Linked DNA regions of Homo sapiens: region 2 is linked to region 1. The links are contacts of gene promoters, found by promoter capture Hi-C in blood cells and fetal thymus (Javierre and others, 2016). All regions are on one chromosome and are shown on one strand. The core of a region is centred on a gene start or on the middle of the fragment in contact, and the rest is flanking DNA. Distances in the headings are between cores, read along the strand shown. Region 1 holds the start of SPICE1 (spindle and centriole associated protein 1). Region 2 holds the start of USF3 (upstream transcription factor family member 3).

What was found. Contacts are between HindIII fragments. The CHiCAGO score rates a contact against its expected background, and 5 or more counts as called.
Region 2: a fragment that was not itself captured here is called in contact with the fragment with the promoter of SPICE1 in region 1 in 6 of 17 cell types (fetal thymus, non-activated CD4 T cells, activated CD4 T cells and 3 more); the score reaches 12.8 in fetal thymus.

The regions. Positions count from the first base shown.
Region 1 is chr3:113,511,876-113,517,375 of GRCh38, forward strand. SPICE1 (spindle and centriole associated protein 1) reads right to left here and starts at 3,281. Exons shown (of 18, transcript NM_144718.4): 1 at 3,022-3,281. It overlaps SPICE1-CFAP44 (SPICE1-CFAP44 readthrough (NMD candidate)), which reads right to left and starts at 3,281. Exons shown (of 52, transcript NR_183050.1): 1 at 3,022-3,281. RefSeq lists enhancers at 2,968-3,087, 3,148-3,197, 3,904-3,953, 4,464-4,513, 4,574-4,623. The HindIII fragment of the contact is 3,693 bases long and covers 2,137-5,500 here.
Region 2 is chr3:113,694,072-113,699,553 of GRCh38, forward strand. USF3 (upstream transcription factor family member 3) reads right to left here and starts at 2,571. Exons shown (of 7, transcript NM_001009899.4): 1 at 2,299-2,571. RefSeq lists silencers at 1,902-2,291, 2,312-2,781. The HindIII fragment of the contact is 578 bases long and covers 1,055-1,632 here.

The sequences.
Region 1 (5,500 bases), core at 2,031-4,530:
AAGAGCTGACACTCAAGACCAGGTCTGACTGACTGTAAAGCACATGCTGGAAAACTTTGCCAGAATTGGGTTACCTCTGTTTGCTTTTATATTTCCCAAATTTTCTATAATGGACCTATGTTACTCTTAAAAATGGGGGGAAAAGTATTTCAAGTTACATTTAGAATATTTTACTTATTCAGAAGCTAAAACTCCAGATGAGAATGCATACTGGCCAACGACTTGATTACAGCTTTGGAAGACCCTAAGCAAAGAATCTAACTAAGCCATGTCCAAACTCACAACCCACAGAAATTGTGAAATGATAAATAGTAATTGTTTTAGGCCACTAAATCTGTGGTAATTTACTACCTGTGTACAGTAGGATAACACAGGTATAGTTAAGCTGCTATCCCATCTTTGCCCTTCTCTTGCCATCCAGCTTCATGAAAAGGTACACTTTAGCACCTGTATTTACTAATCCTTAGTTCTACCTCCAAGTTTTATTAATTACAAAAACTCTGACCCCACCTTTGCACTGAAAAGCTTTCTTTTTTTTTTTTTTTTTTTTTTGAGACGGAGTCTTGCTCTGTTACCAGGCTGGAGTGCAGTGGCACGACCTCAGCTCACTGCAACCTCCACCTCCCGGGTTCAAGCGATTCTCCTCCCTCAGCCTCCTGAATAGCTGGGATTACAGGCGCTTGCCACCATGCCCGGCTAACTTTTGTATTTTTAGTAGAAACGGGGTTTCACCATGTTGGTCAGGCTGGTCTCGAACTCCTGATCTCGTGATCTACCTGCCTTGGCCTCCCAAAGTGCTGGGATTACAGGCGTGAGCCACCACACCTGGCCTCTTCTATTCTTTTCTCCTTTTCTTCACAGGCTCTATTGTCCTCCTCCACACAAACAATTTAATCAAGGATTTCCACCCAGTTCTATCTCAGTTCTCATTCTTCTTGTCTTTCCATTAGATACCCTCTCCTTTCATTCAATAATTATTTGGGGGAGTGCAGCACACACCAGGCACTGGCTAGGCATTAGAGATACAAGTAAACAAGTAAACTAAGTAAACTAAATAAACTAAGATATTAGTAAACAAGTCTAATATGGTGCCAGCTCTCATGGAGCTGCTTTCTTGATCACAAAGGGGCAGTTCACATCCTCCCTCAGTGACCTCACCAACTCCCTTGAGCAAAGCTATGAATGTATGGACAAACAAACACACTGTGAAAATGAGTCCCAAATCAATGATTCACACCTTTCCTCAAAACTTCAAACACAGTGGCTCGCATCTGTAATCCCAGCAACTCGGGAGGCTGAGGCTGGAGGATCGCTTGAGGCAGGAAGCTCAAGACCAGCCTGTGCAACATAGCAAGACCCTGTCTCTAAAAAAAAAATTTTTTTTAATTAGCCAGGAGTGGCAGTGAGTGCCTATAGTTTCAGCTACTCAGGAGGCTGAGGTGGGAGGACTGCTTGAGCCCAGGAATTGGAGGCTGCAGTGAGCTACGATGGCGCCCCTGCACTCCAGCCTAGGTGACAAAGTGAGGCTCTGTCTCTTAAAATAAACAAACAAAAACAAAACAAAAACACCAAATGCTCATTTCTAACTACCTACTATATACATCTCCCAAATATCACAAATACAGTATATCAAAATACAGCTCATCATCATACCCCAAATCTCTACTTGCTGATATATAACTGGTTGACTCGATAAATATGTTCAATTAAGCTGAATTTACAGAATTACAATCCTAGTTGCTCCAATTTAAAACCTCAGCATCACCTCTGTTCCTTATCTCTTAGTGAATCAGATAACAGAATCTATTAACTTTTTCCCTAAAAATCTCTCTTGCCCGCTCTTCTCCATCTCTACTAAAAATATTTTTGTTCAGGCTCTCATTATTCTAATTAGTCTCCCTTTCACTCTTCACTCACTGACTTCATCATCCATCTATTAATGTAACTAATATTTTGAAGCACCATCTAAAAGCGAGGCACCAGATATAACAAGAAAGTAGAATAGTCTATGCCCTTGCAGAGTTAAGAGTTTCTAAGAGGACCGCAATTAAACAAGTATTTACAACAAAAGGGCAGCATGGGAAGTAAATTCTGTGTGCCATGAAAGTACCTAACTAACTCTATGCAGTAAGTAAAAGCTTCTCCTCTCTGTAATACCCCCAAAAATGTTTGCACTGAGAGCTAAAATACGAATAAAAGTTAGAAGCAGGGGAAAGAATATTCCAGGCAAGGGAAAATGCATTTACGAAGAGTTTGAGAAGTTCAGTTCAATTAACAAAGATCTGAGAGGGTGAGAGGTTAAAGGAAGAAAGGCAGACAGCAGATTGTAGTCTTGTGAGCCACAGCAATCTGAACACCTAAGACCATAGGAAACCACTGAAGAATTTTAAAAGGGATAGTTATGACTGGACTTAGTAAATCCACTCTGACTGGTGTGGAAAACTGATCAAAGAGAAACAAGAACTCTTTCCAAACACTGTTGAATCAATCCTACCTAAATACATGGATAGAGAATAGATCTGAACCCTTTACCTACTTCCTCTAGATTCGGATGGCTCCCCACTGTCAAAAGCAATCCAACTCAGCTTGGCATTCAGACCCTCTCCCCCATATGGCCCGGCTGACTTTTCTTTCCAGTGTTCTCTCACATCTCCCGCAAATCCTAAAACCAAGCTCTCGCCTCACACACAGTTGCAACCATTCTTTTCCCTCTGCTTGGAACACTCATTAGGCTCACTCTCTTCTCTACTGGGTTAACTTCCACGGACTCCTCAAAACTCACAGGAGGAGCCTTCTGAGAAGCCCCTCTGACATCCATCGATTTAAATGACGCTCCCGGTCCCAAAGCACCCTGGATAGTTTGCCTCTCTCCTGCTACACGGTGAACTCCCCCAACGCTACAATCGAGCACCCCCAATTACCAGCTCTGTGCAAAAGCTCCCGAAAGCGGTGCGCACGCGCATACTCGAGGTGCTCTGGCGCCACGCACAAACATACCCAGACACGCACCCTGACACGTACTTGCACTCTCAAAACACAGAGCCGCGGCTGCGCTTCCTGAAGTAAGGATTCCCCAACCGGGCGCCTGGATCCCAGGCAACAGACAGATGCCACCACCGTTCTCCCCACCCTTTTGGTAGCCCTGGTCCCTAAGGCTCGTTGGGACTGCGAGCTGCAAGCCTCAGATCCATCATCTCAACCTGCCTTGCAGTCGGTCCCGACTGCCGCCGCCACCGCAGCTAAAACTTCAGGCGCCGGAACCGCGGAGCGCGCCACAGGTTAACCCAGCCAGCGGCTTCCGGGCTGTTGCCTGGGTTACCAGAGCTCCGCCCCACGCCCTTGCGTATATCCGGCGAGCCCAGTGCGCAGGCGCCTCCCAAAGCCTATCTCGGGTCCTGAGTCTAAGGGAGAGAGGTTCCTCTGCAAGGTTCAGGGCAAATTATTAAAGAATAGGTATATAGCAGGCCGGGCGCGGTGGCTGACGCCTGTAATCCCAGCACTTTGGGAGGCCGAGGCAGGCGGATCACGAGGTCAGGAGATCGAGACCATCCTGGCTAACACGGTGAAACCCCGTCTCTACTAAAAATACAAAAAATTACCCGGGCCAGGTGGCGGGCGCCTGTAGTCCCAGCTACTCGGGAGGCTGAGGCAGGAGAATGGCGTGAACCTGGGAGGTGGAGGTTGCAGTGAGCCGACATGGCGCCACTGCAGTCCGGCCTGGGCGAAAGAGCGAGACTCCGTCTCAAAAAAAAAAAAAAAAAAAAAAGAATAGGCATATAGCATTAGCCGGTGCCTCGAGAATTCTCCAAAAGAAAGATGTTGCTCTCCTCACCAGACTTCACATATCACTTAATTTGCTTTCATCTCTATTCATTTGTTTACAAATCTTTAGTAGTGGAATCCCAGCACTTTTGGAGACAGAAGCAGAAGGATTGCTTAAGCTCAGGAGTTTGAGACAAGCATGGGCAAGATGGCGAAACCCCGTCTCTACGAAAAATTAAAAAATTAGCTGGGCGTGGGAACACGCCTGTAGTTCCAGCTACTCAGGAAGCTGAGGTGCGAGGATCGCTTGAGCCAAGGAGGGCAAAGCTGTAGTGAGCCACAGTCATACCACTTCACTCCAGCCTGGACGACAAAGCAAGACCTTGTCTCAAAAAAAAAAAAAAAAGTTGTTTATTACAACCTACAAATGTGCGGGAGAGCTAGGTTCTATGGGGCTAAAAACAGGCAAGGTGGGAAACTTACAGCATATTAACAGACAGTTATCAATGACAAAAACATTAAAATTATGACGAGTGCTAAGAAGGAAGCACTCTAACCAAATACTTAGCTTATTATTATAGTAATATTTGAATTACTCAGGAAAGCTCAGACATGAATAGGCCAGTGGGGAAGGGGAAAGCATTCCTGCAGAGGGAGCTGCATGTGCAAAGATGTGGAAAATGCAAGGGACAGGAAGAGGTCCAGTGTGTCTGAAGTTTAGAGAACAGTGGGAACTTGCTGTGAAGGGGAGGCGCCCTGATAGGCTGGATCCACGACAGTCAGAGCTGCGTGGACCACGTTAAGAACTTTACAAAGCACTTGATTCAAAAACAGAGTTTATTTGCTCTGGTAAGACAATTTCCTCTAGCCCCTTGCTTTCTGCTGTTACAATACACCCATGTGTGGTCTGCAAATACATGCCCAAAACCTTCTAGAGGAAAGGTACTGCCTTTAATAGTTTTCACTCTGATTGAGGAAGTTTGATGTAGATATATTTAATAATCAACAATCATCCACTTGCTTGCATCCTCAACTCCCTGCCCCTCTCTAAATTGCTGTAATCACTTGGCAAAATGACCATATTAGCCATCCCTACTTTACACTTACTAAGTGCTTGCACCCATGCAGCTGAATCTGAAAAAAAACACCCAATCATGCTGACTTTAAATTCATGATTACTGATGTTAAGTAGGACCTTAAAGATGCTTGAACATCTCATTACAGGTCCCTGTTCATTGATTTTCCTACATATTAGTTTTATACCTTCATTCATACCCAATGCCTTGTCTCCTATCCTCATTCTCACACAATGACCTTGCTTCCTACTGCATTGATTACACTGAATTATTCAAAAGAGAACTTCCCTAAGCTCCCATCATTATTTTAATCCTTCTGTCACTATCTTTACCCACAGACCTGCCTTCAGAAGCTCAGCATAAGAAATATGAAGAAAGCTAATCAAAATACTTCATAATCAAATTGCTCAGAACGAGTGATAAAAGAATCTTAAAAGCATCCAAGGAAAAAAATACATGTCGTATACAGCAGAACAAAACTAAGGATTACATCAGTTTCTCATTAGAATCAAAACAAGCAAGAAGACAGAATAACAGTTCAAACATATTCAAAGAAAAAAAGCTATCAACCTAGAATCCTTATACTATTCCTTTTTTTTTTTTTTTTAAGACAAAGTCTCACTCTGTCACCCAGGCTGGAGTGCAGTGGCACGATCTCGGCT
Region 2 (5,482 bases), core at 94-2,593, 180 kb after region 1:
TTCTGAGGGAAGTGGCCTGGGCATTAAAACTTAAAGACACACAAGGTGATGCTCATGTACAGTCTGGATTGAGAACTACTGGACTAGAGAACAGAGAGGTAAAGCATGACAGATATGATTAAGGCTCAAGCTTGATTTAAGACCCTGTTTATAAGCAACAAACTTGAGCTGATTACCTGTTGAAGCTTGTATTCTAACCTGAGTTAAAAATTCTCAGTTTTCTTAGTGTTTCTTTTCCCTTGTTGACAAGGCTAAGCTCTGAAAATAGGAAAAGTACCCATCAATTTCTCATACATGACTGGTTCATTGAGTGTAAGGTCTACAACCTTAGAATTTTACTTCCACGATGTTCCATAGACGACTAACCTAGAAGATAAGTACTTCAATTCTAAGCTGCTCTTACATCCCTGCAATGCACTCCTTTTATATCAGCGAATGTTCTAGGCTGCATCCAGATTTTGCAAAACTCCTAAATACAGGGAGATCCCAATACCTATGTACACCTAAGTCTTTTAGCTTAGACCAGGAGTGTCCAATCTTTTGACCTCCCTGGGGCACACAGGAAGAAGAAATGTCTTGGGCCACCCATCAAATACACTAACACTAACGATAGCTGATGAGCTTAAATAAATAAGTAAATAAATATCACACACAAACATCTCATAATGTTTTAAAAAGTTTACAAATTTGAGGCCGGGCGCAGCGGCTCATGCCTGTAATCCCAGCACTTTCGGAAACAGAGGCAGGCGGATCACCTGAGGTCAGGAGTGCAAGACCAGCCTGGCCAACATGGAGAAACCCTGTCTCTACTTAAAGAAATAAAAATTAGCTGGGCTGGTGGCATGCACCTGTAATCCCAGCTACTCAGGAGGCTGATGCAGGAGAATTGCTTGAACCCAGGAGGCGGAGGTTGCAGTGAACTGAGATAACACCACTGCATTCCAGCCTGGGCGACAGAGTGAGACTCTGTCTCAAAAAAAATAAAAGAAAGTTTACGAACTTGTCTTCTTGTCTTGGGCCGCATTAAAAGCCGTCCTTGGACGGGGGTTGGAAAAGCTTGGCTTAGGCTAAAGCAAAACTGCTTTAGGATTAAGCATTCATTCTTGCATGGATACATTACACTACTTCTGCTTTCAGAAGTGCAATTACAATGTATTTTACTTCTTTTGTAACAAATACTTTGAGTACTTAAAGAGAAACAACACATGTATCCCAAACAGCAACTCTGTACTATGTTAAACAAGAGTTCTATGGGAGAGAAAAAAGTCATCAAGGTGAATGGAGAGTAGGACAGCCTGTTGATCCTTCAAAAGGCAGGTTTGTCTGTTTGGTTTTCTTTACAAAAGAGCAAACCTGGGAATATGTTTCAGGATCCATGTAACTCACCGTAAGATTTATTCAAGAAATCTGTACGTTGTTTATAGGTAAGGAAATGTCTTCTTTGCCTACACAGTTGGCCACGACTGTCTTGATCTGTGTGGTGTTAGGTTACTGTATCTACTTGATGGTAAAAATGTTACAAGAACGGAAGTTGAAATTCTGCACTTTGGTTTATGCAGTCTCATATTTCCAGATAAAGTTAATAAACGCAAAGGACCATATCCCAATGTAACGAGGAGGGTTGGGAGGACAAGCTTCAAGAACGAGTGGGGTGAATTCAACTATCAAAATTGTAAACATGAACAAGAGTCCAGGAATCTTATATTTCATCCGGATACATGAAAGTAGATTTCAAGAGTTGGTCATTCACTTGCACTGCTTCTACTCAGAAAGCAAAAGAACGGCTTCTAAAAAGAAAACACAAGCCTAACACTTCGACAGAGGGGTGAGAGGGAAAAAGCAAGCCACATGAGTCTGACGAACGGGTACGAAAGAAATTCAGAGGGCAAGGAAAGAAGGGGAATGAAGAAGACAGGAAAAGGTGAAGGAGGCGGGCAAAGGCCATCTGGTGTGAACCTGGCTGCCCAGCTCTTTATGCACCCAGGGCAGCGTGGGGCCCCTCTCGCCCCGCGCGCATCTAGGAGCTGGGGCGCAGTGCGAGCCCCCCACGGGCCTGGCAGCCGGGGACGCAGGGCGGGCGGGAGATGAGGGGTGCGCTCGCCGCGGGCGCTGACGCCCCACCAGGTGCCGCACGCAAGGGTCCCCAGGAAGGAGGCGCACTTAGCGCAGCCCTGGCCTCCCGGAGCAGGAAGGGGGTGGGTGGAGCTGAGCCCGGGGCCGCCCTCCGGAGCCGCCCCCGCAGCCCTGGCCCCCGCCCCCCGCCCCGGCTGTCAGCGGCCCCCTCCCGCAGTCACTTACCCGCCGGCTGCGCGGTCTCGGCCGCGGTGGCGGCGGCGACGGCGGCGACCCCCGCCTGGGTCATGATCCCAGGAGGGGAAGGCAGGAGTGTCTGACCGTCTGGGCGAATCTCTCCGTCCGCGGCCACCGCCTGCTCCTCCGGGGCTGGGGGAGCGCGGGCCCAGGCCCTCCTCTCCCCCCGCCCCCGCCGCCTCTTTTTGCGGCCACCGCAGCCGCTGCGAGCCCGAGCCCTCAAGGCCGGAGACCCGGCGGCAGCGCGGCCTCAACTTTCCCAGCCCCCCTCCCCCCGCCCCTCCCCGCCCCTCCCGCGGCCGCAGCTCAGCAAGCGAACAGCCTACCCTGGGCGCGCCGCGTTCCCGCCTCTTTCACTCAACCCGCCAATCAGGCTGCGGGAACGCTGCCGTGGTAGCCAATAAGAAGACAGAATGCCGTTGCACTACGCTAGAGGGCGGGAGGAGGCGGAGAGGAAACCAAGGAGTGAACGGGGATCGGGCGGCCCAATGAGGAGGGCCGGGGGGCGGAGGTGTGCAAGTTGGGTTGAAGAAACAGGAAATATTCTTAAAGGTAGAGTGACGGACAGGAAGGAAAGCCAGTAGGTGAATGGGAAAGAGGTGGGCCTGGTTCCTTAAAGGGGACGCCTTGAGAACCTAGAAAAGAAGGTGTTTTAAGAAACTTCTTTGTATCTTCTTCTGTGGTCTCTTTTCTTCGTCTTTCGGTAGGAGTTTGGAAGTGGAAAAATTGAAAAGGAAGAGGGCACGGAAGTCTTTCGGAATAGTTAGCCCCTCTTAACGTGGAGGGCAGGAAGGTGAGAAGATACGTCTTAGTAAATGTGGAGAAGAAAGAATCAGACGTTTCCGACTTCTCGATAACTGGAAGATTGTTGCTGACTTGACGCTGCTCGCATTCGTAGGCTGTGGTCTCTTGTCATCCTTTATTTGCAACAACACACAGATTTCTGTGAATTGGAGATGGCCATGTTCAGAAATGCCCTGGGGGCCTCCCAGCTGGGACAAGGGAGTTTGGCATTGGGGGATGGGGTTTGAGATCTCAAGCCTGGGTTACTAAATACCTGGATCTAGGAGAGGTAGGGCCAGGGGTCACGAAATGGAGACCTGAGTGCCCCTTAACTCCAGGATCTGTGTGGAGCCCTTGGAACCGTGATCACAACTCCCTCTTCCTAGTTTCGCTTCATATTTTATAACCTCCTGCTGAAACAGGTGTCCTCCACCTAGTTGCGGTTATAGATTTCCAAGCCCTTCCACAACCAGATTTGGAAATATCCCAGATCTTAGATGTCCGTGGGCTAACTTCCAGAAGGTGCACACAGGGCATGGCATAATGGGAATTACTTGAGCCTGTATACAGAAGCAGCAGACATCGCATTGAGCAAAAGGGTAAAGGCTAACAGTAACGGAGTCTTATGTTTGTACAGCAGATTGAAAAGCTATGATGAAACGGAAGGCCTGTAATGTTGCTTATAAACTGTGGTACTAATAAACAGGCTAGAAATTTTCTTTAACTCATCCATCTAGGCACACGAAGTTCTAATTAGCCTTTGAACAGACTTGGCACATCCAAATCAAAACTGCAGATAAGAAAGATTCTACGAGTCAGAGCCATAATAGCAATGCTAATAACATCACCATAAAATTGTATAGTATTGGTATGCTCAGCCATAGGAAACAATTTCCAGTGTGTTCAGAATACAAGGTATTTCTCGTTAACAAATATCATATCCAGGGTGTGCATGATTTCCTAAACAACTGCAATGCATCAATTCTAAAGTAAAAACAAATAGTTTTGATGATTCATGAAACAGAATTTAACCATTCCTTTAGATCACCTTTAAAAAATACACATTAATATATTTCTGGCACGATATAGACGTAGAAAAGAAGAACAATTTCCGTTTGATAAAGATCAGAATATTAGCTTTTTAAATTAATCCTTATTACCTAAGTGTAGCCTAAATCCCAAACAGGGATTTTTCTCTTTTCTTTTCTTTTTCTTTTCCTTTTCTTCCCTTTCCCTTTCCTTTCCTTTCCTTTGTTTTCCTTTCCTTTCCTTTGTTTTCTTTCTTTTCTTTTTTCCTGCGACAGGGTCTCCCTCTGTTGCCAAGGCTGAAGGTCAGTGGCACTGTAACAGCTCACTGCAGCCTCCACCTCCCAAACTCAAGCGATCCTCCCACCTCAGCCTCCCAAGTAGCTGGAACCACATGCCCGGCAATTATTTTTTTCTTTTGGATAGAGATGGGGGTCACATTATGTTGCCCAGGCTGATCTTCAACTCCTGGGCTGAAGCCCAGAGATCTTTTTTTTTTTTGGCTTTACCCATTCAACATCAGTTTCAGATAATCACACCAGTCCTATTTTCAAACTAGCTGGCAGTGCTTACAGTGACCTATATTGGTGGTAAAATATACTGGCCAAGTGAAACTGGTCTATAGGGCTGTTAGTTCATTTTTTTCAAGTGGACAGAGTGAATCTGATTTTCACCCACATTCTTGAGACTTTTCAATGGTGCTGAAAGACTATTTGCATGATATATAAGTACTTCCTTGCATCCCCAGTTTCATATCAAGACCTCCGTTTTTTCCTACTACTGGAGATGAGTGACTGCGGGAGGAGGCTACTGAAAGCCTGGGGCGGCGGCCAGAGCTGCGGGGAGGCCCCGGCCTCAGCTCCACCCACCCCCATCCTGCTCCAGGAGGCAAGAACGCGCAAAGTGAGCCTCCTTCCTAGGGACTACTGTGTGCGGTACCTGGGGGGTGCCAGCGCCCGCGGGGTGCGCACCCCTCTTTTCCCCGCCTGCCCCGCGTCCCCGGCTGCCAGGCCCGTAGATGCGCGCGGGGCGACAGGGCTCCCATGCTGCCCTGAGTGCATAAAGAGCTGGGCAGCCAAGTTTACACCAGGTGACCTTTGCCCGCCTCCTTCACCTTTTCCTGTCTTCTTCACCCCGTCTTCTTTTCTTGCCCTCTGATTCTCTTTCGGAACCACTCGACTCCTGTAGCTTGCTGGGTTTTTTTAGTTTTTCTTGTGTGTTTGTTTTTTGAGACGGAGTCTTGCTCTGTCGCCCAGGCGACTCACTGCAACTTCTGCCTCCCGGATTCAAGCGATTCTCCCGCTTCAGCCTCCTGAGTAGCTGGGATTACAGGAGCACGCTGCCACGCCCGGCTAATTTTTTT